5 separate regions of the Homo sapiens genome follow, and regions 2, 3, 4 and 5 are each linked to region 1. The links are contacts of gene promoters, found by promoter capture Hi-C in blood cells and fetal thymus (Javierre and others, 2016). All regions are on one chromosome and are shown on one strand. The core of a region is centred on a gene start or on the middle of the fragment in contact, and the rest is flanking DNA. Distances in the headings are between cores, read along the strand shown. Region 1 holds the start of FAXC (failed axon connections homolog, metaxin like GST domain containing). Region 2 has its middle 190 kb from the start of MCHR2-AS1. Region 3 has its middle 180 kb from the start of PRDM13. Region 4 has its middle 160 kb from the start of PRDM13. Region 5 has its middle 120 kb from the start of PRDM13.

Region 1 (6,072 bases), core at 2,425-4,924:
CACTCTAGAGACACAGTCATAGATTAAGGTTATGTCTATGCAGCAGAAAATCCAAGTAGGCTGGGGAAGAGTTTGCAATAGCCAGAAACTCAGGGTAGTCATTTTAAGGTGTATTTTCTATCTTACATATTTCAGATTTTGTTTTGTTTTCTGCCTAAATTATAAAGACTATTGAAACCTAGATTTCACCTTAAGTGGAGGTAGTTATCATGTAACCTCTAAAGCCTTGGTCTTTGACCTTCCTGCCTGGTTTTTTTCCCTTTGCCCCTCCACTCCTCTTCCCCTAGACGCTGCAAGAAAGGCACCTGATACAGGTCTGTCTTCCCTGAGCAATGCTTCAGTTCTCCACATTTCTCTTCCTTCCTCTTCCTCCAACAAAACGGATTTCAAAGTAGGTACTTTTTTTGAGACGGAGTCTCGCTCTGTCGCCAGGCTGGAGTGCAGTGGCACCATCTCGGCTCACTGCAACCTCCGCCTCCTGGGTTCAAGCGATTCTCCTGCCTCAGCTCCCCGAGTAGCTATAGGACTACAGGCGCGTGCCACCACGCCAGGCTAATTTTTGTGGGGTTTTTTTGTTTGTTTTTTAGTAGACGGGGTTTCACAATGTTGGCCAGATGGTCTCGATCTCTTGACCTCGTGATCCGCCCGCGTCAGCCTCCCAAAGTGCTGGGATTACAGGCGTAAGCTGCCGCGCGCCGGGCCAAAGTAGGTACTTTCTAAGAGGCAGTGGTTAAAAACTGCAGGCTCTGATTTGAATCTAGATCCTACTACTCTTACTGTGTGATCTTGGGCAAGCTGCTTAACCTCCCTGAGCTGCAATTTCCTTATCTATGAAATGAACAAACAACAGTTGTGAGGAATAAATGCAGTCACACATGCAAAGCCCATCCTACTAAGTATTCAGAAATAGCCCTTTTTTATTGTTTGCATTACTTCAGAGCTTTCTAATTCAACTCAAACATTTGTCCAGAAACAAAACTGGCCAAGTATGGTGGCTCACACCTATAAACCCAACACTTTGGGAGGCCAAGGAGGGAGGATTTCTTGAGGCCAGGAGTTTGAGACAAGCCTGGGCAACATAGTGAGACCCCATCTCCACAAAAAAGTTAAAAAAAAAATTAGCCAAGTGCAATGGTTCATGCCTGTAATCCCAGCAACTCAGCAGACTGAGGCCAGAGGATCGCTTGATCCCAGGAGTTCAAGAGCAGCCTGGCCAACACGGTGAAACCCTATCTCTACTAAAAATACAAAAATTATCCAGACGCGGTGGTGCACGCCTGTAATCCCAGCTACTCAGGAGGCTGAGCCAGGAGAATCATTTGAACCAGGGAGGTGGAGGTTGCAATGAGCTGAGATCGAGCCACTGCACTCCAACATGGGCGACAAAGCGAGACTCAGTCTCAAAAGAAAAAAAAAAAAAAAGGAAGAAAAAGTGTGAATCAACCTAGGATTAAACTCCTTAGTCCAAATAAGCATCCAGTGCTGAGGTATATAGTCCCCTAAATGAGTTAGTAGCTATCTGTGGGCAGAGAGCTCTCCAGTCTCCAGTGACAACACCTGCCAGGGCAGGGCCTACTCCGGAGTGGCAGCTGAGCTCCACACTGTTTCTGCAAGGTCATTTAAGCTTTGTTTTAAACTTGGTCCTGTGAAGCCTTCACTCCCTCCACTGCTGAGAAGCCTCATGGTTTGGGATCTCCTCAAAGGCTTTAGACTAGAATACAACTGAGAAACAACTGGGTTACCATTTAAATTACTGCCCAAATGTTTTAGTTCTTTAGGTAGCTTGAAATCTAACTTGAAATACAGTTCTAAAACTAGCACAATTAACAAATAATCTAGAGAGATAATTCTCTTTAAATTTTTTTGTTTGGTTCAGCTAGATTCAAGGCAATGTGTTGAGAGAATTAAATGTGCAACAAGCTTAAAATAAACTTCCTCAAATATGGCTAAATAATATGAAAACCAATACATTTCTCCAAACCTAAATGATTTCCCACCCTTTCAGAGATGGGAACTATTCAAAATATGTACGTTAGGCCAAATGCCTACATTAGGCCATCACAATAATCTCCTGGGATCCCTGCAGGCTAGTACAGGTCACCTATCACTGTCTTTGTTTATAACCTATTGTGTAGGATTCCTCCACTGGAATAAGGCAGTGTGGACACATTTCTCTCACTTTAGAAAATACTGGCAAAGAGACATTCTGAGCTATTGAAAACTGGGCTTCTGGTAATCTTCCAGTGACGGAAGGCTCAAATGCATGGAAATTTTAACCATTAATTGATGTATCAATTAGCCAAACGACTGTCTCAGTGCCCTGTGGTATTACTCTACCCAAACAAAAATCTCGTCCCGGCTGGATGTACCAACAGCAGGGGCCTCCATTTTCTGGTATTTCCAACTCAATCTTGTAAACATTCTGCGGCAGCGGATGCAACTGTTTACGGCACTGGGCGACTCCGTGTTGTGCCCAACACACCCATGTGCTAGCCTGTCCTACTGCTCACACAACAATGACATCTAAGCCTGAAGATGGTGCTTGGCGTTCAATACCAGATAAGCAGAGAACCAGGTTAAGGCTGCATCAAAGCTGCCCACCACTACACTTGGTCATGCATCTTTAACAGGGACCCGCAGGTTTCTGGAGCTTTTGCAATTTTTCAGTCTTTTGATGTTGACATTTAGGGAAGAACTAACCTTTAGGTAAAAGATAAGGTTAGCAGTTAATATTCCAGCATTATTACTTATAAACAAGGCATTTCATAAAAGTGTAACCTATTTCTGCAGGGCCCAATTCTATTGTTGCAAACACACTGCACTTAGATCCTCCTAAGGCCATTTCTTAATAGATAACGACAAGTGACCCAGAGCATTTTGGGAGACAAATGTTTTTCCCTCCCAGCACCGGTTTAATTCTCCTTTCAACTCTAAACTGCCCCTCACGGCCAGGTGACCACAAATGCCTTTAGGGAAAGGTAATTGCAGGGCGCTTGGGCATCTGGGCAGCTTGACCGAGGGGCTGGCACGGGCCCCTCTCGCGCCAGCCCTGCCCTAGCCAGGTGCCCCTCTCTGCGCCCCTGTGCGGGGCCCTCTCTCCGGCTCACCTAATGACCAGGAGTTCGTGGAGCAGATACGCAGCTGCGGCCAGCAAAGCTCCCCCGGTCAAGTAAAGGGTTTTCTTCCACCAGGGATCGGAGCCCAGCCCTGCCATGATCCCACCGTAATCCTGCAAAGGGAAAGCGATGATGTCCCCATAAAAGGAGAAGGGCTCCTCGGACCCGGCCCACCAGCCGAAGAAGGAGATGCTCTGGTTCCAGCTCAGATCCACCACGCACGGCCTGGACGAAGCAAAGCCAACCCCCCAGTGCATGCTGCGCGGCTGGCTCCGGGCGCCCCTCCCAGGGCCCGCGCCGCCCGCATGGGAAGGGGCCGGCGCGGCCCGGCGCGGGCTCAGAGGCGCGCGGAGGGCGCGGGCGGCGCGGGCGGCGGCGACTGAGGAGGCGGCGGCGACTGAGGAGGCGGCGGCAGAGGAGGAGGAGGAGGAAGGGCACTGGCCGCGGACGGCGGGCCTGGCCGGCGGGGCCCCAGAGCCCTGGGCGGCAGCAGCGGCCGCCGGCTCCCCCCGCAGCTGCCTCTCCGCCCCGCTCTTTGTGTCGGCGCCTGGAGAAGGCCGCGTGATGTCATTGCTCCCCGGGGCAGGGAAACAGAGGCGGGATAAAGTCACCTACCCCGCGCCCTGCCCCCTCCCCGCATCTCCGCGGTCCGGCCGCCTCCGCCGGGGCCGGATCTGCAGGGCTGAGGCGCGCCGGGCAGGCTCCGCGCCTCCGGGCGGCACGCCCAAAAACCGCTCGCCGCGCGCGGGCAAGGGCGGCGGAGGTGCCTGGAAATGCGGCCCCACCGCGAGGAAGCTGCAGTCGGGGCCCGGATCCCGGTCCTCCCCTACCCCGGCCGGCCCTCCGCCTGCGCTCCAGCCCCTCCCGCGGGCCCCAGAGTAGGGAACGCGCAGGACTCACCTGGGGCGGCGCGGAGCTGCGGGCAGGAGACGCCACCAGGCGGGGGCTGGGAGCGTGGGCCAGGATTAAAGTCGGGAATCAGATTGTTCTGGCCATCAGGAAAGCGCTGCGTATTTGCATAATGTATAAAAACACTCTTATTACATTACACAATTACCTCGGGCTTGACCAGGTGTTCGCAGAGACGAGATGTCTGGTTTGGCAAATAACAAAATACTCTACCTAGAGAGATTTCTCTGACAAACCCAGTTCAAGTCTTTCCTCTTTGAAGTCACTATCAGGGAACTCGCTGATACAGGGTTTCGGTTGGGGGACGGGGGTCCCTCTTTTGTTTTAGAAAATCTGTCTAACAACTGTGTGTGTGTTCAGTGTATTTTTTTCCTTTAACTTCATTTATTAAAGTTCATAAGTACAAAGAATAGAAGCTTGTAATATATGCACAGATTTTAACAAGAGCATGGATAGTTTTAAATTGTTTGGAAGAACTGAAAAAGGATTCGGGCCGTGGAGGTTCATCACTCTCAAGGTGGAAGGATGGGTAAAAGAAACCTCCAGGCTCTTGCCTATGGAGCAGAGATTGAGGCGCAAAAGGACTCCCCCTTTTTTTCCTCTCCTGACACACCCGCCCCTTAGAACAGGCAAGGAGTGTGGTCGTCTTGTTAATAAATAATAAATATGGACGTGTCGCCTCAACGAGACGGGGGGAGGGGCTAGTCAGCTGATGCCTAGGCACCAGCATGTGAGACTCCCCAAACACTCCTGGGAAAATGTGACCTCCCAGGAAGAAGTAATGTGTGTGGTTCTAAGTGAGGCTCCCATAAGTAGGTTGCAAGGAGTGAAACCCAACGGCCTCCTGGGGTGACTGAGGTGGTCACCAGCCGGTCTTTCAAGGAGAGAGGCCAGAAGGCTGCCTGGCCTTGTCGGCAAGAAGCAGAGTAGTTAAGTCTGGGACCAAAGCTGCAGTGCTCTGGAAGAGGGAACAAGGAGGGCTGGCACCAGGGATTCTCCATGCTCCTTCTGTGCCCTTCCCACAGAGCACTCAGTCTTTGCTCTCAGTGAACACTGAGCCAATATTTAAAGAATATAAGTTTGATATTTGGGATCACATTATTTGCATATCTAGGTCTAGACATGGGGATGGGCATAAATTACCTTAAGTGGAAGAATATGGAAGGCAAAAGGGAGAGTCAATCCTGACAAACCTTATGCCCAAAACAAGTTAGAACCCAGAGGAAGTGTAGTATTTTTATCCCAGAAAGCCACTGACTACAATTCACTCTCACTCATAGTGACCTGCCCCACCCACTCATGCAGGCCAGGGGCCCACTGCTGCTTCCTGGTAGTGTCAGACAACTGTTGAGCATCATCTGGTCTCTGGTTCAAATATGGTTTACATTTTTAGAGACACTGCAGTGAACATCTTTAAGAAGCAGATGTGGGCTGGGCACAGGTGGCTCACACATGTAATCCCAACACTTTGGGAGGCCAAGGTGGGTGGATCACCTAAGGTCACGAGTTCGAGATCAGCCTGGCCAACATGGCGAAACCCCGTCTCTACTGAAAATACAAAAAATTAGCCGGGAGTGGTGACGAGCACCTGTAATTCCAGCTACTCGGAAGGCTAAGGCAGGAGAATTGCTTGAACCCAGGAGGCGGAGGTCTCAGTGAGGAGAGATTGTGCCATTGCACCCCAGCCTGGGTAACAAGAGCGAGACACCGTCTCAATAAAAATAAAAATAAAAATAAAATAAAATTCCACAAGAGAAACTAAAATGTCATCTTAATCTGATGCATCTTAAATTTTAACTTTTAGATCCATGGCATAGAAGAGAAAAGATGATTATTGTTAGGGCTGTATAAGATGAAAAGAGGAAGAGTAGACTGAGGAGACAACAAATCTGAGTTGGACAAATATTTGGTATCAGAATGTCAGAACAGGCCGGGCATGGTGGGGTGGCTCATGCCTGTAATCCCAGCACTTTGGGAGGTGGGCAGATCACTTGAGGTCAAGAGTTTGAGACCAGCCTGGCCAACATGGTGAAACTGTGTCTCTACT
Region 2 (6,072 bases), core at 2,656-5,155, 460 kb after region 1:
CTAGTGAATCAGAAAAAAGAAGTCACTGTCCCTCTAACAGTGAGATGAAAGCAGGTTCATCTATTAACTGGGGCTAAAGTACGGTGCAGTATTCATTCCCATCAATTCTCATTGAGAATGAGCACAGAGAATGTTCAGAGTTTCATTTCCTAGTTATTGCTTTCTTCTTATTTTCAAACTGCTTCTATTCATTTCTGTATGGCTAGATATGAGACTCTTTAGGCATGCTAATTTACTATTTTTCCCCAATCTATTTGATGTCTGCAAAGAACTGTAGATGTATTTTGTATTATGTTATTAACTTGAACTAGTCAGGAGTTAATGAAGAAGGCTATAAAAAAGCCAGTGTTTTTGTTTTGAACCAATTCATGTTAATTTATATGCTTCTGACCAGGTTAAAAGCCCTTAGCACATGTATCATTAAAATAAAAATTCATGAACCCCGTACAACCTGGACAGAGGGCTGAATTGAGAGGAGAGGTGGTGGGAAAGTTGCAGATGTTTATTATAATCAATTTAATATTCTGAGTTGTGAGATAATTTCTTAACAAGTCAATTATTATAGATTAGATTATAAAGATTTATCCTTTGATCCTCAGCTGTCTTCTGCCTTAGACTGTGTTCAGCATCTCAGCGGGAATCAGGGAATTCTTGGTAGAACGAAACAAACGTCTCTCCAGCTATCAGCTTCATTAGCAGCACAAGCTGGCTTTGAAAATAGCTTCCAAGCATAAAGAAAGCCTACTTTCAGGGTTTAACATAAGGTAAATATATCTAATATAGTCTAATGTGGAAATTTACAGGAGCCAGACTGGATAAATTAGTAGGAAACCTAATAATTTTGAATCAATGTACATTCATTAAAAAGTAGTAAATAAAGAAAACAGTCTATTGCATTTAACTAAAGGTTTGACTATAATCAGTTTTTAAAAATAACTATTTCCCTCTCCAGACTTGTGAGGCTGACAGACTGGGGTTGGGATCCCCTTCTGTTCCCACCTGCTAAAGGAGTCAGGGCAAATTACTGTTCATGTTTTCATTTCCTTCCATGTAAAATGGTGCTACTAAGACCCAAGCAGTCTCAGCAGCAGCACTACACTTCACAAATAATAGCTATTAATATTATTATTATGTTGTTACATACAAAATATAAATAAGACATGATAAAAGTAAAAGTAAATATAATCCCACACATTGGTATAAGCACTAGAGAGATTTTGGTATATTTCCTTCTGACCCTTTTTTCTATATGTATTTGCACAAAAATGAGATTGTATTGTACATGTTGCTTTTTTCTCACTTAAAATATTAGTAGTATCTTTTGATGCCATTATATACAATAGACAAAGTTTTTTAAAGGAACTTTATTCATTATAAGTTTTTGTGAGTAGGTTTGGGATAACATGTCAGGGTTTTAGAACTTTCATCCTCTTGGGTAACAAAAAATTCTACCTGTAGGAATAACTAGGTAGGAGCTGTCACTGATGGCTGCAGCCCAGTCAACAATATCTACGTCTTTTCATCAACAAGTAGTTACAAAAAAATATGGGGTGATAGTGGTCATTCTTGAGAACAAGGAACATTCTTTTTCTGTACCTTGAAAACTAGTTTTTATAAATAGCCAAATGCCAATGAAAATCTAAAATACTGGGCTTTTCCTAACCTGAGACACAAAATTATACTGAAAAGCCTAAGGAGGATGTTAAAGATGAGCACAATGTTGCGCTTTATATCTGATCCAATACCAGGACACCTCTTCTATTTCCAGTAAGGCCAATTATCTCATTTTCCTTTATTCCCTTTCCTGTGCTGCTTTTGCAGAGGAGGGTGCACTTGTTTTGGTGAAATAAGACAATTGCATTAGAGACTCTCTCTGTAAGCAGAGGAAACAATGTTAATCATATGAGACCCTTTTAAAATGTGGACCACACTGGTTTATTGCTACTGTACTTTTAACCCCACTCTTTTATATTCCGCTTTATGATGCTGGGCTGAATCCCTGCAAACTTTTCTCCTGTGCTAGCCTCTGTTACATACTGGCACAGGGGGCCACTCAAAGAGTCTGAAAGTAGGGACCTGTTTCTTCCTGTTCCTTTCAGTGTCACCACAGTGATGGTTCTTCATACTGGCCTTGACGGTTGTTCCATTACAGCAGTACTTTCAGAACCAGCCTAAACACCTGTCCCCACCCTCTCCTGCCCCGAAATGCCAGCTTTCCCTCCTCAGAGATCTGCATGCCAGCTCCTTGAGGGTCCCTCCTTCAAGCTTCTACATTTTCTTAATTCCATTCCATTCCCTTTGTTCCCACAGTCCTTGGGGTGGTAGCTACTCATTGTAGTTACTATCTCTGTGATACCTCAGTATGGCCCCCTTTTCATTTCCAATTCTCCAATACCTGGCTAACTATTCTTTATGTTAAATTCTCCCAACTAAACTTTCTGGTGTGTTTTTGTCTCCTGATGGCCCTGGCTAATGCACGGACCAATACCAGACTGACTTTGCCATTTCTTTCATACTTTTAGAGTATGTGGCTGTTCTGCTTCTCCAGTGCTTCCCATCTAGTGGTAGGTGACTACTGGTGAGATGCTAGGTTAGCATAACATGTACTTAGAATTTAAAATGGAATTCACTCCCAACAAGATTTCAGCAATTTGTATTTCTGTGAATTGTATTGTATATGAATATATAATAATACAATATCCATGAATGTAAATGCCTTAGAAATAGCAGACTTTTGTTTCATATTTAGTGAAACTCCATATAAATATACAAATGTTGCTTTCCAAAGGACATGAAATCCATGTTTTATTTATGTATTTATAAAAAATTTAAAGAGCCTCTTGCCCAATTTTATATAGAAAACAACAAACAAGCCATCTTCAAACAAACAGTTATGTTTCCTCATGGGATTTAAAATAGAACATCTTGTCCAATAGGCTTCTTCAACCTAAAGTTATCTAAAAATGCTAAATAAGCTTCTTCAAAAAATAAGCTTATTTCACTTAGGAAATGGCTCTCCTTGAGTACAGAATTGTTGGACAAGAAAAAAGCTTCTAATTACTTCTGAAAGAATCTCTGAAGAGCTAAGATCAATGAATTGGATGAGAATTCTATCTGCCACGTGTCTTCTATTTTTCACAGGAAAAATGAAAGTAGTTTTTTTCCCTCTTTTTCCCAAGCACTCTCGATCTCTGAGTCCTTCCCTCCCTCTCTTCCCCAATCCCTTGTTTCTACAGCAGGTTCTATATTTAGAAAGAATCCATGGACTAAGGACAAAGCAAGTTTGACTTTCATTTCTACCAGTTCTGTTGGTAAATGTGGGTTATGGCTGCAGCAGCCTTAAATGACTCCTGTGCCTCTCTACCCATCTTCTCTAGGAATTTCTGAAGTGTGCTCTCTTTCAGGTGCTTGGTAAACTGGGTTTGTTGTTTCCTGACAGCTGGGTTGGAGTGGGGGCTGTTACGGATTGTCAGATAACACGGATGGACAATGGTGCTAGAATGGACACCGCAGAGAGAGGATGGGAGGTATGGGGTTAGGAAGGGAAGGCTGAGAGGCAAGGGGCAAAAGCAGGCTTGCCCCTTGTCTTTTGATCACTTCAAACCATTCTTTCTTCCTGGTAGAGCTATGGATAGTGACAGTGTATGCCCAGCTTGAGGGAAATGTGTGTAATTCAGAGGCACACCCAACTCCAAAGGGACACACTACTGTTTACAGAGAGTCAAGGCTTTCAGATGAGTTGTGCTTTTTCCAAGGTTCCAAGACATCAATAAAAAAAAAAATGTGCCTTTGTGCTGTTTTCATACTAGCTTAGGCATGTTATTTTCCTCTCTAAAATGAGGTTGTTAGCACTGAATGGATCCCAAGATTGTGGTCTTTATTTAGTGAAAGGTCATGGACCAAAACCTAGATTGTTTCTACCATTTTGTTTCAATTTATATGTTCTGATAGTTTTCTTTTTATTCTGATTCAAGGTTTAGCTTTTTTTTTTTTTTTTTTCAACGATCATATTCTCACGACTGCTCTTTTAGGGTTTTATTGGTGCTGATGATGCCTGAATTTGTCTCTGGTTCTGAACTCTTTCCTGGGCATAACTCTTTAACTCCTTTGATGACCTGAACATGTTTGCTTGCACATCCCAGCACTGCTTTCAACTGAGCACATGTAGCATAGCTCTTCAGTAAGAACGGTCTCTCCCTAAAGTCCATGTTTCTGCAAACAGCACCACAATCACCAAGGTCAGGCTTACCTTTCTCTTCACTCCCATGTTCAACTGGTCACTCAGTCCTTGTACATCTGCCTTGATTGTTTCCAGGTTGTTTTTCTCTGTTCTCCCCAGGGCTCGCTCATTACCTGGATTGTCCTAATGCCTTCTTACCTGGTCTTTCTATTTCTGGTCTCTTTCTTCAAATAGTTCTGCTTTTTATTTCAAATCAATCTGCTAAAACATCACTTTCATTGTTTCTTGCCTCAATTTAAAAAATGCCACTTCCCCCATTTTTCTGCAAGACCCCTCATCTAGATTTTAAGTTCCTTCACAGGCCATCAAATTTTTCAAATTTACTTCTAACCACTCACTCCTCAATATAAAGGCTCTATCCATTTAGAAGAATAGAACCAAGCTAAAAAGCTGGGGGAAAGTTCAGATGTGATTGAGAGTTTGATGACAGATTTTGTGTGTGTGTGCGTGTGTGTGTGTGTGTGTGTGTGTGTGTGTGTGTGTGTGTGTATTCATTCCCTTTGGGTGTTCCTAAATCTCCTGAAGCTTTTATTGAGAAGCCCATTCTAGGATGTTTTACATTTGAGTCCCTGAACATGACTTGTTCATATTATCTTCTTCCCTCCCCTCTGAGATTATTTCTGTTAATTGTATCACCAACCTCATCATCCAGCTAGAAATCAAGCCATCCTCTTTAACTTGTCTGTATCTCTTACCTGTCACCTCAACCACTTGTTGCATCCTGGTTTATTCTATTGTGCAACATCTCTCACATACGTTGCCTCCTGTCTGTTCATTTGTGCTGTCTTTCACAACCTTCCATTTTTCTACTATAAGCTTTTGCAGCTAGATTTCTAGCTCATCCTGTATCTATAGATAAATTTGTTCCCCACTCTTGCTTTCTGTACCATATGCTGTTTTCAGATTTATTTTCATAAAACTTCTACTCAGACCCCATTGCTTGCTCTTCAGGGAATTCTCACTGCCTGAAGAATAAAATCCAAACTTCTGGGATTAAAGTTCTTCCACAGCCCGAGCCTGTTACCAGTGGCGAATCTGACAGGTCTGCCGCAAACCTGACCCTTGCCTCCTTGGAGGAAATAATTTGGCTGAGGAGCAGAAGTAGGTTTCAGGTAGAGAGAGAGACCTAAGCAAATTTTAGAGCAGGAGTGAGTTTATCAAAAAGTTTTAGAGCAGGAACAAAAGGAAGTAAAGTACACTTGGAAGAGGGTCAAGAAGGTGACTTAAGAGATGCAAGTGTCCTGTCTGGCCCTTGACTTGGGGTTTTGTACATTGGCATGGTTCCAGGGTTTATGTTTCTTCTCCCTTGATTCTTCCCTTGGAGCGAGCTGTCTGCATGTGCAGTGGCCTGCCAGCACTTGGGAGGGGCCACATGCACAGTGTGCTTACTGAAGCTGTACAGCACACTTTAGGTGTTTTTTTCTTACCAGTCTAGTGTTCCTAAAGGAGGGTCATGTACTGGTTAAATGCTGCCATTTTGCCTCTTAGCGTACATGCTTGAGCCCACTCATCCAGCTCCTGAGATCTTATCAGGAAGCTGCTGATCACCAGCTTCAGGTGTTTACTACCTACTGGGAGACTCTGTTTCCCTGGTGCTGGTCATGACCAATTATTATTTTACAGTGGTTGTTTAACAGCCACCTGACCATCACCTGATGGTTGCCTGACATTCCTGGGGGTGGGGCCTCTCCTGCCTTGCTCATGTCTGCCTAATTACCTGCTCTAAGAAGCCTGCCCTAACATTCCTGTCCTATCTCCCATGACATTCCTGGCCTAACTAAGAAATGGGCATAATTTCTTGAACATGTCCTATATGTTTGCTTGCGCTATTT
Region 3 (6,072 bases), core at 1,594-4,093, 440 kb after region 1:
TTGTGGGTGGCCTGAGCCCGTGGTGAGCACAGTGGGAACAGATTCGTCCTTTCTGGTGTGCTGACTAAAATCCTGGTATTTGAAAGTTTGCCACACATGCACACAAGAAAGAATGAGAACCACTGGGAAAGAGGCTCCAAAGCAAAAACTGAGTATTTCAAAACATCACCTTACTAGACGTGCATGGGAAATAGATTAACTCAGGATTTTAATGAGAACAACCAAGAAATAATGGATTTTCCCCTTCATTTCTCCTCCTTCTTACCTCAGTTATTTTCGTTTTTAAACCCTGTTTTAGAGATACGGGCTTGCTCTGTTGCCCTGGATTGCAGTGGCATGATCATAGCTCACTGCATCCTCGAACTCTTATCTTCAAGAGATCCTCTTGCCTTGGTCTCCCAACATTCTGGGATTACAGGTGTGAGTCACTGTGCTCAGCCTAGTTTTTTTTTTTTTGCTTTATTTTCAGTGTCTTCCCCATATCAATCTCACTATTTGGATTATTTCAGAAAAGGTAGAAACAAAAAATTAAAATTAAAAGTAGGTAGTACTGTTCTGGCCTATTCTCTTCCTGCTCCCGCCACCACCACTCTCTCCAGCCTCCGTTTTATTCACTTTTCCCTTCCGCTCCCATCTCCTTTATGACCTTCTTAAAATCCTGCCCTGGGATCTGCTTGTTAATGGCCTTTGTAATTATAAACAAGCAGATCCCAGGGCAGGATTCACTTTCTCCTACTGTCACTATTTCTCTACTTTTCCAGACTTAAAACCACCTAGTCTTCATATGTATGATATCCTGATGGCCCAGGTTTTGGGGACAGTCTCAAGTTCACATATCGTATTACTCCCATGACTACCTTTGTTCTTGTCAACCTTGAGTCATAGTTTTCTTTTTGGGATGTGTCATCATTGTGTCCATCTAAAATGTAAAATACAAGGGAGAGTGATTGCAAAGTGGCATGAGGGGGTGTTTCTGAAGTGGCACCCTTCAGAAATGATGGAAATGGTCAAAACTCATCAAATGTAACCTTAAAATTGATGAATTTTATTCTATGTAAATTATACTTTTAAAAAAGTGACTAAAAATATAAAATGACAGACATTATGCTGCTGCCCATGCTCTTGCCCTGGCCACCTTCCCACTGGAGTTGTGTGGAGTGCTTGTCCTTCGCTCATTCTCATCCTCTCAGTCTTTTACCTCCCGTCTCCTCTGGGAACCAGTGTGCTGTCCTGTGGTGTCCTCATTTCATTCCCACCAGCCCAGGGAGCAGAGCCCAGAGCACCTGCTCTCAAGAAAAACCAGAGTGCCTGCCTCAAAGTGGCAAAGGATAAAGTCCTACACAAAACAAAAATGCAATGATTTCTGACCAAGCCCTTCTACATAATATGTCTTTTTAACAAAAGTATCCATCAAAGTGATATAAATATCCTCAGTAATCTTGATCTTTTCAATGCAGCTCAACCAGCTGTTGAAAGGCTGTGGTGGCTCCCAGACAGATTCTGTAATAGAAGGTTTTGGGATCCCCTCTATCTCTTGCTCTGGGGCCAGCCACAGCCCTGGTGCTCAGGCCACAGAGCTTTCTGTCTTCCCACCTGCAGGGAGAAACCTGGGAAAGTCTCCTCCCATCATTAAGGCTGTGGGCACGTACAAATGCATTCATGTGTTTTGAGGGACAAGTGAACCATATTAAAGGAGGAAAGAGGGAGGGGTGATTAAGCATCTTTCTATCCCTTTCCACAGCCATCTGCCCTTCTTTGGGTCTCTCTTTTTCACCCCCTTTGGGTCTGAACTTATATATTGCCATGAATAAGCAGATCCCAGGACAGGATTTTAAGGTCATTGCCCAATATCATTCATTAATTTGGTATTTATATATTGCTAATGAGATATGACTGTAAGAAGAATGCCAATCACATTGTAAATAAAAATTTTCTTTTGATTATGAAAGCAAATCAGTCCCCTTCAAGAGAATTTGGATGTTAAAAAATGTGCAAAAAGATGATGAAAATCACCATCAAGAAATAATATCAATATGTTGCTATCTTTCCATGTTATGTATATGTGTAATTTTTATAAAAATTAGATAAAATTAATTTTGTATTTTTATACTGAGCATTAAAAAGTATTTAATTATATCATTTTTAATGCTTTATATTTTAATATTCTGCTGTATAAACATATTGTAATTTATTTAATCATTTTCCTATTTTTAGACACAAATTGTATCCATTTGAAGTACATAAATATATTAATAGAGTTTTTGTTGATATATTTTCTTTTTATTCATCTAGTTGAATATTTGGTATTTTTCTAAGTACTACATTTTAATGTCTACCTGAATAATATACTTCCATAAATTATTATATAATGTCCCCTTGATTTCAGGATACATGTATTTTGTTCTTTTCAACATACAAAATGAGAATAGTGCAGGGAACAGAGACAGGTAATACTAACAAAGATTATTTAGTTATTATCAGAGTTCCACCTACTGGTGTATTTTAAAATGGCATAACACAGACCTTTTGATTAGCATCAATGAAATTATTTAAAATATCCCTGTTGCTTAAATTATTTTAGTCAGCATTAGGATAATTGATAACAAGAAAAATGTCATGGCTTTAGATTTTCTTTGTTAACTTCCTAAATCAATAAAAATCCCAATATTTATAGTATTTCAACAGGTTAAGAAATGGAAAATCTCACTGTTAACTATATACAAATAAAATAGAATAAATAGACTAAAAAGGAAATAATACATTAAAAACATATTGAAAAGCTAGTAAGATATTTATGGTGAATGAAGCCACCAAGCTCAGACAATTTTATGAATAAGTTCTAACAAATCTTTAAGAAACAGGTAATTTTGGCTGGGCATGGTGGCTCATGCCTGTAACCCCAGCACTTTGGGAGGCCGAGGCAGGTGGATTACTTGAGGCCAGGAGTTCAAGACCAGCCTGACCAACATGGTGAACACCTGTATCTACTAAAAACACAAAAATTAGCTGGGCGTGGTGGTGGGCACCTGTAATCCCAGCTATCTGGGAGGCAGGAGAATCGCTTGAACCCAGGAGGCAGAGGTTGCAGTGAGCTGAGATCGGGTCACTGCCCTCCAGCCTGGGTGACAAAATGAGACTCCATCTCAAAAAAAACCAAAAAAACAAAAAACAAAACAAAAAAAGAAATAGGTAATTTTATGCTACTTAAACAGTTTTATAGAATAGAAGAAGTTAGATATTATCGCTCTGATTTTATAAGTCTAATAAAATGTAATATCGAACTAAACAAAGCTGTATCATGAGAAAGAAAACTGTGTCAATCTAATTTAGGACATAGTTCTAAAATTTTAAATAAAATATTGATATATGGAATGCAATAATTGATGTAGTCTTTGAATAACAACAATTATATCAATTATCTAATATTTCATAACATACCACTCCAAATTTTAGAGTCTTACATTAATTATCACTTATAATCCCATGCTGGCAATTTGTTCAGCCAGGATCAGCTGGGCAGTTCTGCTAGTCTGACTGTGGGCATTTGTGTGGCTGCAGGCCACATTTGGGGCTGGGTGGCCCACAATGGTCTCTCTTACATGTCTGACAATTGGTGCTGGCTGTTGGTTGGGTCTCTTTCTCCATGTGGTTTCTTTTCTTTTCTTTTTCTTTTTCTTTTTTGTTTTTTGAGACGGAGTTTCACTCTTAGCGCCATTGCACTCCAGCCTGGGCAATATCTCAGCTCACTGCAATCTCTGTCTCCTGGGTTCAAGCAATTCTCCTGCCTCAGCCTCCCAAGTAGCTGGGCTTACAGGAACCCGCCAACACACCTGGCTAATTTTTCTATTTTTAGTAGAGATGGGGTTTTGTCACATTGGCCAGGCTGGTCTTGACCTCCTGACCTCAGGTGATCCACCTGCCTTGGCCTCTCAAAGTGCTGGGATTACAGGCATGAGCCACCATGCCCAGTTTAAGTTTTGCCTCTAGGCTCCTTTATATGGCAATTTCAGGAGAGTAAGAAGGTCAAGAACAGGCACTGTAAGGCCTCTGGAGGCATAGATTTGGAAGTTACATATTGTAATTTCTGCTGCATTTAATTGGTCAAAGCAAGTTACTAGGGGGCTCAATTTAAGGGGATGGAGAAAGAGGCTAGTTCTTAATGGGAAGGACGATGACATCAAATTGTAAAGGGATATCCATACAGGGATGAGAGGAACTGTTGCAGCCATTTTTGAACACAATCTACTACTATCCTTAAATAAGTTAATTTTTGTAAATACTTAGAACAATGACTGGCACATAGTGTCATATAAGTATTTACCAAATAAATAAGGAATCAACTACAGTTAATTTTAGGAAAACAAAGTTCACCATTAGAACAATCCACTGATTATGGTTTTCTGGAAAGAAAAAAATCTACCTCTCAGAAAGCCGACCAATATAGACAATATAAGTAGGTATTTTTCATTAAATAATTTCAGAGAGAAAAGAGAATCAATTACCTTCCCAATTTTTTGAGTTTCAAAAACTTAAGGTGACTTCAAGATGGTATATCATATGATCTTCTCCACTCTATTCCCGAGACATAGGAATAATTGAAAACAAGTATTTAAAAAAATTTTAAAGTACATATATGAGCTTAAGAACAAGAGGAAGAACAGTGGATCAGGAATGGATAGTGGCGAGTAGGGACAAACTGATGTTAGTACTGGACAAGGAGTATAAGCCACATTACCTGTGTTGCAGCTAGAAACAGACCCATGCTGGTAGCTCCAGTGGGAAAGACAGGCATTTGAGTCAAAATGGGGAGGATGCTTGAGCTGCCTGTGGGTGGAGATTTTGAGACTATCTTTCCTGTAAGGGGCAACAACCCCAACCCTCTAACTTGGTTAATGTCTGGGTAGCCCAGAGGGCCAGGCTGAGGCAACCTCAAAACCACTCCAAGAGAAACACCTGAATGGGGTAAACACCCTCATGCAAGATAAGAGCACAAAGCGAAATTTCAAAGCACACAAAGAAATCCATGGTCATCAGAGGTTACCATGGCAGTAATTTTTCTTGGGGATAGATTTCCTTCTGATGACATCCTGAAAGTATCTACTTACTTCTTATTCAACAAATATTACTTATTTAAAAAGCATCCATGTGTTCCAAGTACAAGTTGTTCTAGTGACTGGGAACAAATGGTGAACAAAGCACACAAAAGTCCTTCTCTTCATGGAGTTTATGTTCTGGTGGGAGATAGATGAGGAAAGAAACATTTTGGGAGTAACCTGGATAGAGTATAGCTAGTTAGGCAGATGACAGATGGAGGATGGCTGAGATATAGATTCTCAAGCCCCTGAATCATGTTCTGCTCCAGCTGTTCATTCTCTCACGAAGTCCCAAACACCAATCATTTTTCCTTTTTTATTGAACCACACAAATAAAATGAAAATGAAATGAAATTTAAGAGAAAATGTTCTTTGTCTTCTCATCTTTGTTAAAATGAACAAGCTGGCAGGACAAAGAGCCAGGAGAAAACATGATTCATGTTACATAAGGAGAGTAAAGGGCTTTCCAGGTGGGCCAGAGAAGAAAATAAATTAATAATTATTCAGGAAGTATAGTGATTAAACAAAATTGGGGGATTAGCATCTAGTTTTTGTTTGGTTGTCTTTTTTTTTTTAAATTTTAACTTTTATTTTAGATTCGGGGGTGCATGTGCAGGTTTGTTACATGGGTATATTGTGTGACAGCATCTATTTTTTAGTCAGTTTTGTAGCATCTGCACATTTTTCTAGTTCTTAAAATAAAATATACATACTTAGGCTCTTCTTTTATAAAGGCAGGTCAACTTGTGCTCATGAGATTTCCATTTCATTTATGCTCAGTGCAGGTGTGTACTGGGCAATCATGTTTTCCTTTTCTAATTATATCTGAACTTGAAGATGGGTAGAGAGAAGTCGGTCCCAATGGCAGGACACTTCTGTGCCTGCTTTCTCTTCCCTTGTTATCATCTTGCTCTAAACTTTTTCCACTGGAGAAATCACAGTTTAATTGTCACCTATAATTATTTTTTTAGAGGAAAAT
Region 4 (6,072 bases), core at 1,230-3,729, 420 kb after region 1:
TGCACCTGGGAATAGATGTTGGTATTTCCCAGGATTTTATTCTAGGATTTGGTCTCAATTTTATATCTTTTTTGGAGAACTCTTACTCATACTAATTACTTCAGTTAATACCTATGCTGATTACCTTCAACTATTTATGTATGTGTGTATACATATATGTTAGACTCTTGTTTGTCATTTAATTTATTTAATCATGAGGATGTTGGTTATGGATATAACTGCTAGGATACAGGAGTACATAAGAAAGACATGGTTTTTCCTTTCACAGATCATAGTGGGAGGAGACAGTTAAGGAGACAGAAATAATAAATGCTACAAACAAACATATAAGAAATATCTGCTAGTGACAAGTACTGTAAATAAAATATAGTGGAATGATATGATAGGGAGTGAGTGAGGCAAATTTACAAAGGTTAGAAAGAGCCTCTTTGAGGAGATGATAGTTAATCTGAGACTTGAATTGCAAAAAGGAGCTAGACAGGCAAAAATTGGGGGTAAGAATGTCTAAATTTTAGGAGATGGCTAGTGTAAAAATCTTGAGGCAGAAATGATTTGGTGTGTTTAAGGAACAGAATGTAAGGCCCCTATGGCTGGAGCATAGTGAGCTAGGAGGAAACAGTAAGGCTGAGGTTGCCAAAGTAGGCAGGGGCTAGATCAAGCTAAGAAGAAGAAGTATTGGAGAGTTTCATAGAAATTTGACATTACTGTCATATTTTATCATAGTTTACAAAAGTATCAGTTATAGTAAATTACAGAAAAAAACCCTGATTCTTTAACACAACTATTTTGAGAAGCACTGTTCTAGTAGATGCTTTTTTTTTTTTTGAAATCATTTGTTTATTTGTCTGTATGCTCCACTTGACTGAATTTTGCATTTTTCTTTTTTTTAAAATTATACTTTAAGTTCTAGGGTACATGTGCACAACGTGCAGGTTTGTTACATATGTATACATGTGCTATGTTGGTGTGCTGCACCCATTAACTCATCATTTACATTAGATATATCTCCTAATGCTATCCCTTCCCCCTCCCGCCACCCCAGGACAGGCCCCGGTGTGTGATGTTCCCCACCCTGTGTCCAAGTGTTCTCATTGTTCAATTCCCACCTATGAGTGAGAACATATGGTGTTTGGTTTTTTGTCCTTGCGATAGTTTGCTGAGAATGGTGGTTTCCAGCTTCATCCATGTCCCTACAAAGGACATGAACTCATCCTTTTTTATGGTTGCATAGTATTCCATGGTGTATATGTGCCACATTTTCTCAATCCAGTCTATCATTGTTGGACGTTTGGGTTGCTTCCAAGTCTTTGCTATTGTGAATAGTGCCGCAGTAAACATATGTGTGCATGTGTCTTTAAGGCAGCATGATTCATACTCCTTTGGGTATATACCCAGTAATGGGATGGCTGGGCCAAATGGTATTTCTAGTTCTAGATCCCTGAGGAATCGCCACACTGTCTTCCACAATGGTTGAACTAGTTTACAGTCCCACCAACAGTGTAAAAGCATTCCTATTTCTCCACATCCTCTCCAGCACCTGTTTTCCTGACTTTTTAATGATCACCATTCTAACTGGTGTGAGATGGTATCTCATTGTGGTTTTGATTTGCATTTCTCTGATGGCCAGTGATGATGAGCATTTTTTCATGTGTCTGTTGGCTGCATAAATGTTTTCTTTTGAGAAGTGTCTGTTCATATCCTTTGCCTACTTTTTGATGGGGTTGTTTGATTTTTTTGTGTAAATTTGTTTAAGTTCTTTGTAGATTCTGGATATTAGCCCTTTGTCAGATGGGTACATTGTAAAAATTTTCTCCCATTCTTAAGTTGCCTGTTCACTCTGATGGTAGCTTCTTTTGCTGTGCAGAAGCTCTTTAGTTTAATTAGATCAGTAGAAGCTTTTATTAAGACAAAAGGGCTTCTAAAATATGTAAGAGTATGGTGCTATATCAGCCTGATGTGCCCAGAGTACAAAACATTAGGTTTAGAGGGAGAAATATCCATCTTGAAAAGGACTGTGAATTCACACAATCCTTTTGGCACATGGAGTTGAATGGAATCAAATATATAGAAAACCCACAGTATTTCTGAGATATTTGTATTAGCAAAATCATGTTAGTAGTCTCTGGACTAAAAGAAGCCAATACTGTTAGAGATGTGTCCCCAGCATTCTACAAGCAGGATGCTCAGCTGCTCAAAAAGTACATATTCTCCAGTTCCCTACTCAGGATTTTCCAAGGAGGATATGGAAAAGAATGGACTGTCTGTCAGTGCCATAGAAAACAAAAGACTAAGGAGCCACTCAGAGGCAGAATTGAGTCTAATCGAGAAATATTCTCAACCTTCAAGATAAGTAAACCAGACATTCGCCAAGTGGTATGTCAGAATTTTTATTGTCTAGTGATTGCTATGTACTTTCTACTCTTCCTGTTTCAAAATGGTTGGGAGGATTCATGTGGTATGTAGGTCTTCTATTGTATATAAAGTGTGTGAAAAAGAAAACTCGTCTTTGTAATTCATAGCTCTCCAGAGCAAGAGAAACTGCAACTGATGATGTAAATCTTTATTTCTGAGCCTGATGTTGTAATTTTGATGAAATCTTGGAAGGTCTTGGATGTTGCGGAATGTATTTCATATGTGGGAAGAGCATAAAACACATGAAAAAGAGGTTGGACTTTAGTAGATAACTATTACAGTAATTCAAAAATGTCCACTCCATGTCCACCAGTGCCATAGGAGAAATGTCCTTCCCCATTTCTTGACTTTGGGCTCAGCATGACTGGCTTTGGCCAATGAGATGTTAGCTGATATGACACAAAAAAAGGGTTTGAAATGCCCTTGTATGTCTCTGCTGTTGTGCTCAGAAGAGCTTCCTTTGAGTAGGTAGCTGCTGCCCCTTCATTGTGGAGCTCTGAAAAGTACATGTGATACAGGCCACAGCCCAAGTGGTCTAGTGGAGGAAATGATGCTTCTCTCACTCACACTTGAAGTTCTTTGCCAGGCTTATTATAATATAAAAATTATGCTAATAAACCTCATAATATTTTCATAATAATAAAACTCCCAAGAAGCTTATAAAATACATAATTATAAAGAACAGTTTGAAATATGGATTCACATCTGCCAATAGTAAGATGGACCTTGACCTAAGTACAGAGTGCTCCTTAAGATATTAGCTAAATATAAGTTTCATAACTTTATTGAGGTGTAATTGGCATAAAATTAACTGCACATATTAACCGTATAAGTTGATAAATTTTGAGCTGTGTACAAACCTGTGAAACATCATTATAATCATGCTAATTAATATGTCCCTCACCCCAAAAAGTTTCCTCATGCTGCTTGTTATCCCTCCCCTTCACCTTTCCCTGCCCAAGCTCCATGCTGAGGCAACAACTCATCACTTTCTGTCAGTGTAGATATTTGTGCCTATATAGTTCCCTAGAACTTATATGAATGGAATCATACAGTACTCTTTTTCTGGCTTCTTTCACTCAGCATAATTATATTAAAATTCATCCACTTCATTGTATGTATCAAAAGGTCATTCTTTTTATTGCTGAGTAGTATTTTGTTTTATAGATATATAATAATTTGTTCATTTACTTATTGATAGACATTTGACTTGTTTCCAGTTTTGGTCTATTACAAATAAAACTGCTGTGAATATTCATGTGCAAGTCTTTGTATATACTCCTTTTCTCTTGGGTAAATAACCTAGAAGTAAAATTTCTGGATCATATGGAAGGTGGTGTTTAGCTTTTAAAGAAACTGTTTTCCAAAGTGGTTGTACCATTTTACATTCTTGACAGTAGTATATGAAAATTTCCATGTCTTTTCCAATATTTGACATGGTCTTTTTAATTTTAACTATTCTAATAGGTATATAGTGATATCTCATGTGGTTTTAATTTGAATTTCCTTCATGTCTAATTTGTTAAACATGAGCTTAGTTGCCATCTATATGTCTTTCTTTGGTGAAGTGTTAAAATCTTTTGGCCATTTAAAAATTCAGTTGTTTATATTCTTATTATTAAGTTTGGAGAGTTATTTGTTCTCAATATAAATCATTCATTAGATATGTATTTTCCAAATATATTCTCCCAGTCTGTAGCTCTTCTTTTCATTCTCTTGACATTTTTTGAAGTTTTTAATTTTGACGAAGTCCAGTTTGTCCATTTTTCTTTTATGGATCATGGTTTTGGTGTTTTATTTAAAAAATGCCCAGACTAAGGTCACATGATTTTTCCCATTTTTTATTTTTAGTAGAAATTTTACAGTTTAAGGTTTTTGTATTTAGGTCTATAATCTGTAAGAGACTTAAGCACCTATATGTTGTGAGGTATGAATAAATATGGATTAAATTTTATTTTTTGCATGCAGATATCCAATTGTTCTATTACCATTTGTTGAAAGGACTATCCTTTTACCACTGCATTTTTCTGGCATTTTTGTAAAAAATTAATTGTTCACATAGGCATAGGTCTATTTTATTTCATTGGTCTATTTGTCTATCTTTACACTATTTTGGCTATTGTTGTAGTAAGTCTTGAAATTGGTCATATTAGTTCTCCAATATTGTTCGTTTTCAAAGCTGTTTAGCTAAAACCTGTATTCTATATATTTTGCATGTAATTTGCATAAATTCTGTGTATTTTGCATTTCCATATATATTTTAGATTGAGCTTGTCAATTTCTGCAAAAAAAAAGTCCCTCAGATTTTGGTTAAGACTGTGTTAAATCTATAGATCAATTTGGGAAAAATTGACAGCTTAACAATATTGAGTATTTTTAAGAATTAACCCATGAATATGGCTTAATTCTTCATTTAGGCCTTCTTTAATGTCTCTGAGCAATATTTGTAGTTTTAAATGAACAGGTTTTGCACCACGTTTGTCAGTTTTATCCTTTAATATTTCATATTTTAATGGCTTTGTAAATGGAGGTATATTTTAGTTTAAATTTCTCAATTATTTATTTTGCTAGTACAGGCAAACCTTGGAGATATTGTAGGTTCAGTTCCATACCATCACAATAAAGCCAATATTGCAATAAAGCAAGTCACACAAATTATTTGGTTTGCAAGTGCATATAAAAGTTACATTTATACTATAGTCTATTAAGTGTGCAATAGCATTATGTTTAAAAACAGTGTACATAGTTTAATTTTAAAATACTTTATTGCTAAGAAATGCTGACACAGAGATATGAAGTGAACACATGCTCTTAAAAAATGTTGATAGACTTGCTCAGTGGAGGGTTGCCACAAACCTTCAATTTGTAAAAAAAATGCAATATCTGCGAAGTGCAATAAAGTGCAATGAAACAAGATAAACCTGTGTATATAAAGGCAGTTGATTTTCCTATCTTGAACTTGTGATCCTACAACCTTGCTAAATTCATGTATTAGTTCTAATCACTTTTTGGAGATGCCATTTTACATAGACAACACACTATCTACAAATACAGTTTCACTTTTTTTCTTTTTAATCTGGATGCCTTCCCTCCATTCCTCTCTCCTTTCCTTCCTTTTTTTTTTTTTTTTGGTCTTATTGTACTAGCCAAAACCTCCAGTACAATATTGAATATTGAATAGAAGTGGTGAGAGAAAATGTCTGTTGTTATTCCTGTATTAGGGACTAAACATTCAGTATTTTACCATTAAATATAATACGAGCTGTAAGTTTTTTGTGGATGCCCTTATCAGGCTGAGGAGTTGCACTTTTATTTCTAGTTTTCCAGTAATCAAGAATGGATGCTTTTTTTTTTTTTTTGAGACCGAGTCTCACTCTGTCTCCAGGCTGCAGTGGAGTGGCACGATCTCGGCTCACTGCAAGCTCCACCTCCTGGGTTCAAGCGATTCTCCTGCCTCAGCCTCCCGAGTACCTGGAACTACAGGCACCTGCCACCATGCCCGGCTAATTTTTGTATTTTTAATAGAGATGGGGTTTCACCATGTTGGCCAGGATGGTCTTGATCTCTTGACCTCATGATCCGCCTGCCTCGGCCTCACAAAGTGCTGGGATTACAAGCATGAGCCACCGCTCCCGGCCAAGAATGGATGCTTTATATGTA
Region 5 (6,072 bases), core at 1,629-4,128, 380 kb after region 1:
CCATGGCTGGGCTGATACCTAAGATCCAAGACAAAGTCCCCCTTACTTTTCCCTCTGCTTTTCTGAAGCAAAAGGAGTTTTGGCCCGTGGACACTCAGCTCATAATATGCTGTGTCTCACCTGAAGCCAGCAAGTCTCAGAGGCTCACCTCAGCCCCTCAATGTAGTACCTGGGTATTGCTGCTGTTTATTTAGGGTCTGAGGGCTCTTTGGTTAGCAGGTGATAAATGTTGCCAGCACTGGGTCCTTCCCTTCAAGGAGCAGATTCCCTTCTAGCCCAAGGTGTGTCTAGAAATGTCTGGGAGGTAGGGCCTGGAAATGAGGCCTCGTGACTCTGCCCCATGCCCTATTCTCCTGTGGCTGAGCTGGTATCCAAGATGTGGCCCATTCTTGCCTCTCCTTTCCTCAGGTGTGAAGGAAGAGGTATCTTTTGGAGTTAGGAGATTTGCAGCCTAGGGTTAGCGGAGGGGTGGTGCCAGCACTCCCTTAGCTGCCCCAGCTGGTGTCTCAGTAGGTCATGTGCCCCACCAGTCCACTGTCTCTGGGCCTGGTTAAGCCCTAGGATTCACCTAGGTGTTGTAGTCCTTGTGGCCTAGATTGCCTTTCAAATTTATTTAGAGCCCCAGGGCACTTTAGCCTGTGGTGGCAAGGCTTGCAGGTGGTGATGCTTGTGGGAATTCAAGTTCCAACCACTGGGATCAATGAATGCACCCTGGGTAGAGCTGGTTTAAATAGTCTCTCCTTGGGGGGGCATCAGTTGAGTTTGGTCTGGTGTTCCTTTCTGCTATAACAGGACAACACTGAGTTCAGTGTCTCACAACTGCCAGCTCTCCCTCCCCCAGCAAACAGAACTGCTCTCCACCCCACGCCACTGCTCAGGGAGGGATGGCATTGGTGATTCAAGCCTGTTTTTTTCTATCTCTTCAGTGTCTCTTTCACAAAGTTAAAACTAGGTACTGTGAGTGCTCACCTGATTTTTGTTTCTTATGAAAGTGTTTTGTTGTGTAGATAGCTGTTAGATTGGTGTCCTTGCAGTGGGGGACACAATTGGTGGAGTCTTCCATTCCACCATCTTGTTCCTAATTCTTTTTTTTAATGACTAGTATTTAGTTATAAATTAAATAATACCTGAATAAGAATGAAAACACCCAAAGTTGCATAATAGTCAAATCCTCAAGGTAGCTATTGGTTTTAGCTAAATGATAAATGATGAGGTAACTAGGACTTCAGCAACAGTATTCGCTATTGATCTTGCTCATTTGACATAAACCCCCACGCTCTCACACCATTCAGTTTCACTGGGAAAATGATGTAGATATTTCATGCATTGTTATTCTTGAAAAATAGAAACAGAATTGATGCTACTATTGCCTTTAAGCTTTTAGGGATTTGAAAACTGTTGACTGGGAAGCACAGTTGTAGTTGGTACATATTTTACTTATGTGTAAGGTAGACTTGCTGTACAGGCTGCTGTAAGATGAAAATCTGGGTACAGGCGTGGAGATTTTTCCCATTTTCCAATTCCCTTTTTACCTTCCTCGTTTTCAATCAGCTTACATCTTCCACAGCAGTAAGGAGGAGACTGGTGAAGCAGGGCCAGTTGTAGTCAGTCTTTTCCTTTCTGCAGTCTAGAAGGCCCAGGCGGCATCCCTGCTGCCCAGGTGTCTGCTGGCCTGGCTTCATCAAGCAGCCCTTTTTTCTGCACATGCTCTCCTAATGGCCTCTTTCTGCTTTCCTGAGTGACAATCAAACTGATTCTGAAGAATATGCTTATAGTCATAAATGTGAACAATAGCGAGCAAAGATCCCTCCTTTCTGAGTACAACAGGTTTCTGAGGACAATATTTTATTTTTTTTTAAATGGACACATTATAATTGTACATATTTATGGAGTACAGTTTGATGTTTTGATACATGTATATGTAGTATAACGATAAAATCAGGGTAGTTAGCATATTCATCATCTCATGCATTTATCAACTCTTTATGCTGAAAACATTCAGAAGCTTATCCTCTAGCTATTTTGTCATATACAATACCTTACTGTTAACCGTAGTTCCTCTACTGTGCAATAGAACCCAGAACTAATTCCTCCTATTTAATGTAACTTTGCACCTATTGATCCACCTCTCGCCATCCTCTTTTCCCCCCACATCTTCACAGTCTCTGATAATCACTATTCTACTCTCTACTTCTATGATTTCAACATTGTTTTATTATGTTCCACATAATAATGAGATCATGCAGTATTTGTCTTTCTGTATCTGGCTTATTTCACTTAATATGGTGTCTTCCAGTTTCATTCATGTAGTCAAAATGACGGGATTTCATTATTTTTTATGGCTGAATAGTATACCATTATATATATAATATTATGTGGAATTATATATATATATAATGGTATACAATTCATTGAATGAATATACTATATCCATTATATATATGCATTATATATAATGGTATACTATTAAGCCATAAAAAGAATGAATGGATAAAGAAAATGGGATATAAATATATATCTATTCATTCATTGTAGGAAACTTAGATTGATTCCATATCTTGGCTATTGTAAATAGTGCCGCAATAAACATGGACTGCAGATATCTCTTCAACATACTGATTTCATTTCCTTTGAATATGTATTTAGCAGTGGGATTGCTGGATTATATGGTTCTATGGCCAATTAAGTTTCAACAAACGTGCCAAGAATACATGTTTTATTATTCTTTATTATTCTATTTTTAATTTTTTGAGGAACCTCCATAATGTTTTCCATAATGGCTGTAGTCATTTATAATCCCACCAACAGTGCATAAGAGTTCCCTTTTCTCCACATCCTTCCCAACACTTGTTTTCTTTTGTCTTTTTATAGTAACTGTTCTAACTGGAGTGAGAAAATATCTCATTGTGATTTTGATTTACATTTTCCTGGTGATTAGTATTGTTGAACATTTTTTTTTCATACACCCATCATGGCATTTGTGTATCTTTTTTTTTTTTTTTTTGAGACAACGTCTCTGTTGCCCAGGCTGGAGTGCAGTGGCATGAACATGAATGACTGAAGCCTTGACCTCCTGGGCTCAAGTGATCCTCCCACCTCAGTTTATCAAGTAGTCATAGGCACATACCACCACACCTGGCTAATTTTTTAAGTTTTTTGTAGAGGCAAGGTTTTACTTTGTTGCCCAGGCTGGTGTCAAATTCCTGAGTGCAAGCAATCTTCCTGCCTTGACCTCCCAAAGTGCTGGGATTACATGTGCGAGCCATTGTGCCCAGCCTTGTGCATCTTTTTTATTTCAGAACATCTGTTAAGGTCTTTTGCCCATTTTTAAAGTCAGACCATTATTATTATTATTGCTATTGAGTTATTTTCTTTTTATTTATTTATTTAGAGACAAAATTTCACTCTGTTGCCCAGGCTGGAGTGCAGTGGTGCAATCATAGCTCACTGTAGCCTTGAACTCCTGGGCTCAAGTGATCCTCCTGTTTCGGTCTCCTGAGTCACTGGGGCTACAGGCACATGCCATAGTGCCTGGATAATTCATTTAGTTTTATTTTTTGTACAAATGGGGTCTCCCTTTGTTGCCTCCCAAACTGCTGGAATTATAGGCATGAGCCATTGTGCCCAGCCATATTGAAGTTTTAAAAATATATTTCGGATATTAACCTCTTGTTGGGAGTACAGTTTGCAAATATTTTCTCCCATTCTGTAAGTTGTCTCTTCAGTCTGTTAATTGGTTGCTTTGCTGTGTAGAAGCTTTTTAGTTTGATATAATCCCATTTGTCTATTTTTTGCTTTTGTTGCTGTGCTTTTGAGGCCTTATTTAAGAAATCTTTGCCAAGCCCAATCTCATGAAGCATTTCTCCTGTGTTTCCTTCTAAGAGTTTTGCAGTTTGGGTTTTTACATTTAAGTCTTTAATCCATTTTGAGTTGATTTTTGTCTGTGGTGAGAGGTAGAAGTCTAGTCTCATTCTTCTGCATGTAGGTATGGAATTTTCCCAGCACTCTTATTGAAGAGACTGTCTTTTCTTCAACATGCATTCTTGGCACGTTTGTTGAAACTCAATTGGCCATAGAAGCATGAAGTTGTTTCTGGGCTTTGTATTCTGTTTCCCTTGTCTATGTGTCTGTTTTTATGCCAGTAGCACATTGTTTTGGTTACTATAGTTTTATAGTATAATTTGGAGGCAGGTAGTATGATGCCTCTAGCTTTGTTATTTTTACTCAGGATTGCATTGGCTATTTGGGGTCTTTGTGGTTCCACATGAATTTTACTTTATTATTTTATTTCATTATTATTACCTTTTGAGATAGAATCTCACTCTGTCTCCCAGGCTGGAGTGCAGTGGCACGATCTTGGTTCACTGCAACCTCCGCCTCCCGGGTTCAAGCAATTCTCCTGCCTCAGCCTCCTGAGTAGCTGGGGATTACAGGCATGCACCACCATGCATAGCTATTTTTTTTTTTTGTATTTTTAGTAGAGACGGGGTTTCACCATATTGACCAGGCTGGTCTCAAACTCCTGACCTTGTGATCCACCTGCCTTGGCCTCCCAAAGTGCTGGGATTACAGGCGTGAGCCACCGTGCCTGTCTATGAATTTTAGAATTGTTTTTTCTCTTTCTGTGAAGAATGTCATTGGTATTTTAATAGAGATTGCATTAAATCTATAGATTGTCTTGTGTAGTATGGTCATTTAAACCATATTAAGTCTTCTGATCCATGAACACAGGATATCTTTTCATTTTTGTGTCTTCTTCAATATCTTTTATCAATGTTTTATTGTCTTCAGTGTAGAGATCTTTCACCTCCTTGGTTAAGTTTAGTCCTAGATATTTTAGTTTTGTTGGGTCTATTATAAATGAAGTTGTTTCCTTTTTTTTAAATTTTATTATTATTATACTTTTAGTTTTAGGGTACATGTGCACAACGTGCAGGTTTGTTACATATGTATACATATGCCATGTTGGTGTGCTGCACTCATTAACTCGTCATTTAGCATTAGGTATATCTCCTAATGCTACCCCTCCCCCATCCCCCCACCCCACAACAGTCCCCGGTGTGTGATGTTCCCCTTCCTGTGTCCATCTGTTCTCATTGTTCAATTCCCACCAATGAGTGAGAACATGCGGTGTTTGGTTTTTTGTCCTTGTGATAGTTTGCTGAGAATGATGGTTTCCAGTTTCATCCATGTGCCTACAAAGGACATGAACTCATCCTTTTTTATGGCTGCATAGTATTCCATGGTGTATATATGCCACATTTTCTTAATCCAGTCTATCGTTGTTGGACATTTGGCTTGGTTCCAAGTCTTTGCTATTGTGAATAGTGCCGCAATAAACATACGTGTGCATGTGTCTTTATAGCGGCATGATTTATAATCCTTTGGGTATATACCCAGTAATAGGATGGCTGGGTCAAAAGGTATTTCTAGTTCTAGATCCCTGAGGAATCGCCACACTGTCTTCTACAATGGTTGAACTAATTTACAGTCCCAAATTGTTTCCTTGATTCTTTTTTTTAGATAGCTCACTATTAGCATATGAAAATGGTATTGATTTTTGTATGTTGATATTATATCCTGCAATTTTATTAAATTTGTTTATTAGTTCTGTTTTTTGGTGGTGTCTTCAGAGTTTTCTGTATAAGATTGTGTCGTGTGCAAACAGTATCAATTTGAGTTCCTCCTTTGCAATTTGGATGCCTTTTATTTATTTCTTTTGCCTAATTTCTCTGTCTAGGACTTCCAGTGTTGCATTGAATAGAAGGGGTGAAAGTGAACTTTCTCGCTTTGTTCCTGATCTTAGAGGAAAAGCTTTCAGCTTTTCCCTATTCAATATCATGTTAGCTGTGGGTTTGTCATATATGGCCTTTCTTGTGTTGAGGTACATACCTTCTGTATCTAATTTGTTGAGAGTTTTTATTATGAAGGAATGAATATTGAATTTATATATATATATATTTTTTTATTTATTTATTAAAATAGAGATGGGGTCTCACTATGTTGCCTAGGCTGATCTTAAACTCCTGGGCTCAAGCAATCTTCCTGCCTTGGCCTTCTAAAGTGCTGGGA

The links. The method cuts DNA at HindIII sites, captures the fragments that hold promoters and counts their contacts. A CHiCAGO score of 5 or more calls a contact.
Region 2: a fragment that was not itself captured here is called in contact with the fragment with the promoter of FAXC in region 1 in 1 of 17 cell types (naive CD8 T cells); the score reaches 5.3 in naive CD8 T cells.
Region 3: a fragment that was not itself captured here is called in contact with the fragment with the promoter of FAXC in region 1 in 1 of 17 cell types (naive CD8 T cells); the score reaches 5.1 in naive CD8 T cells.
Region 4: a fragment that was not itself captured here is called in contact with the fragment with the promoter of FAXC in region 1 in 3 of 17 cell types (total CD8 T cells, naive CD4 T cells and total B cells); the score reaches 7.0 in total CD8 T cells.
Region 5: a contact is called between a fragment that was not itself captured here and the fragment with the promoter of FAXC in region 1, in 1 of 17 cell types (erythroblasts). The highest score is 5.2, in erythroblasts.

The regions. Positions count from the first base shown.
Region 1 is chr6:99,346,000-99,352,071 of GRCh38, forward strand. It overlaps FAXC (failed axon connections homolog, metaxin like GST domain containing), which reads right to left and starts at 3,675. Exons shown (of 6, transcript NM_032511.4): 1 at 3,108-3,675. The coding sequence starts at 3,373. RefSeq lists enhancers at 57-557, 558-1,058, 1,949-2,513 and silencers at 3,705-3,764, 3,835-3,884, 3,945-4,024. The HindIII fragment of the contact is 2,521 bases long and covers 1,919-4,439 here.
Region 2 is chr6:99,805,516-99,811,587 of GRCh38, forward strand. No RefSeq gene overlaps it. Among named protein-coding and RNA genes, the nearest start is that of MCHR2-AS1, 190 kb to the right of the region's middle. The HindIII fragment of the contact is 1,715 bases long and covers 3,049-4,763 here.
Region 3 is chr6:99,788,386-99,794,457 of GRCh38, forward strand. No RefSeq gene overlaps it. Among named protein-coding and RNA genes, the nearest start is that of PRDM13, 180 kb to the left of the region's middle. The HindIII fragment of the contact is 9,560 bases long and covers 1-6,072 here.
Region 4 is chr6:99,763,169-99,769,240 of GRCh38, forward strand. No RefSeq gene overlaps it. Among named protein-coding and RNA genes, the nearest start is that of PRDM13, 160 kb to the left of the region's middle. The HindIII fragment of the contact is 1,173 bases long and covers 1,894-3,066 here.
Region 5 is chr6:99,725,211-99,731,282 of GRCh38, forward strand. No RefSeq gene overlaps it. Among named protein-coding and RNA genes, the nearest start is that of PRDM13, 120 kb to the left of the region's middle. The HindIII fragment of the contact is 1,751 bases long and covers 2,004-3,754 here.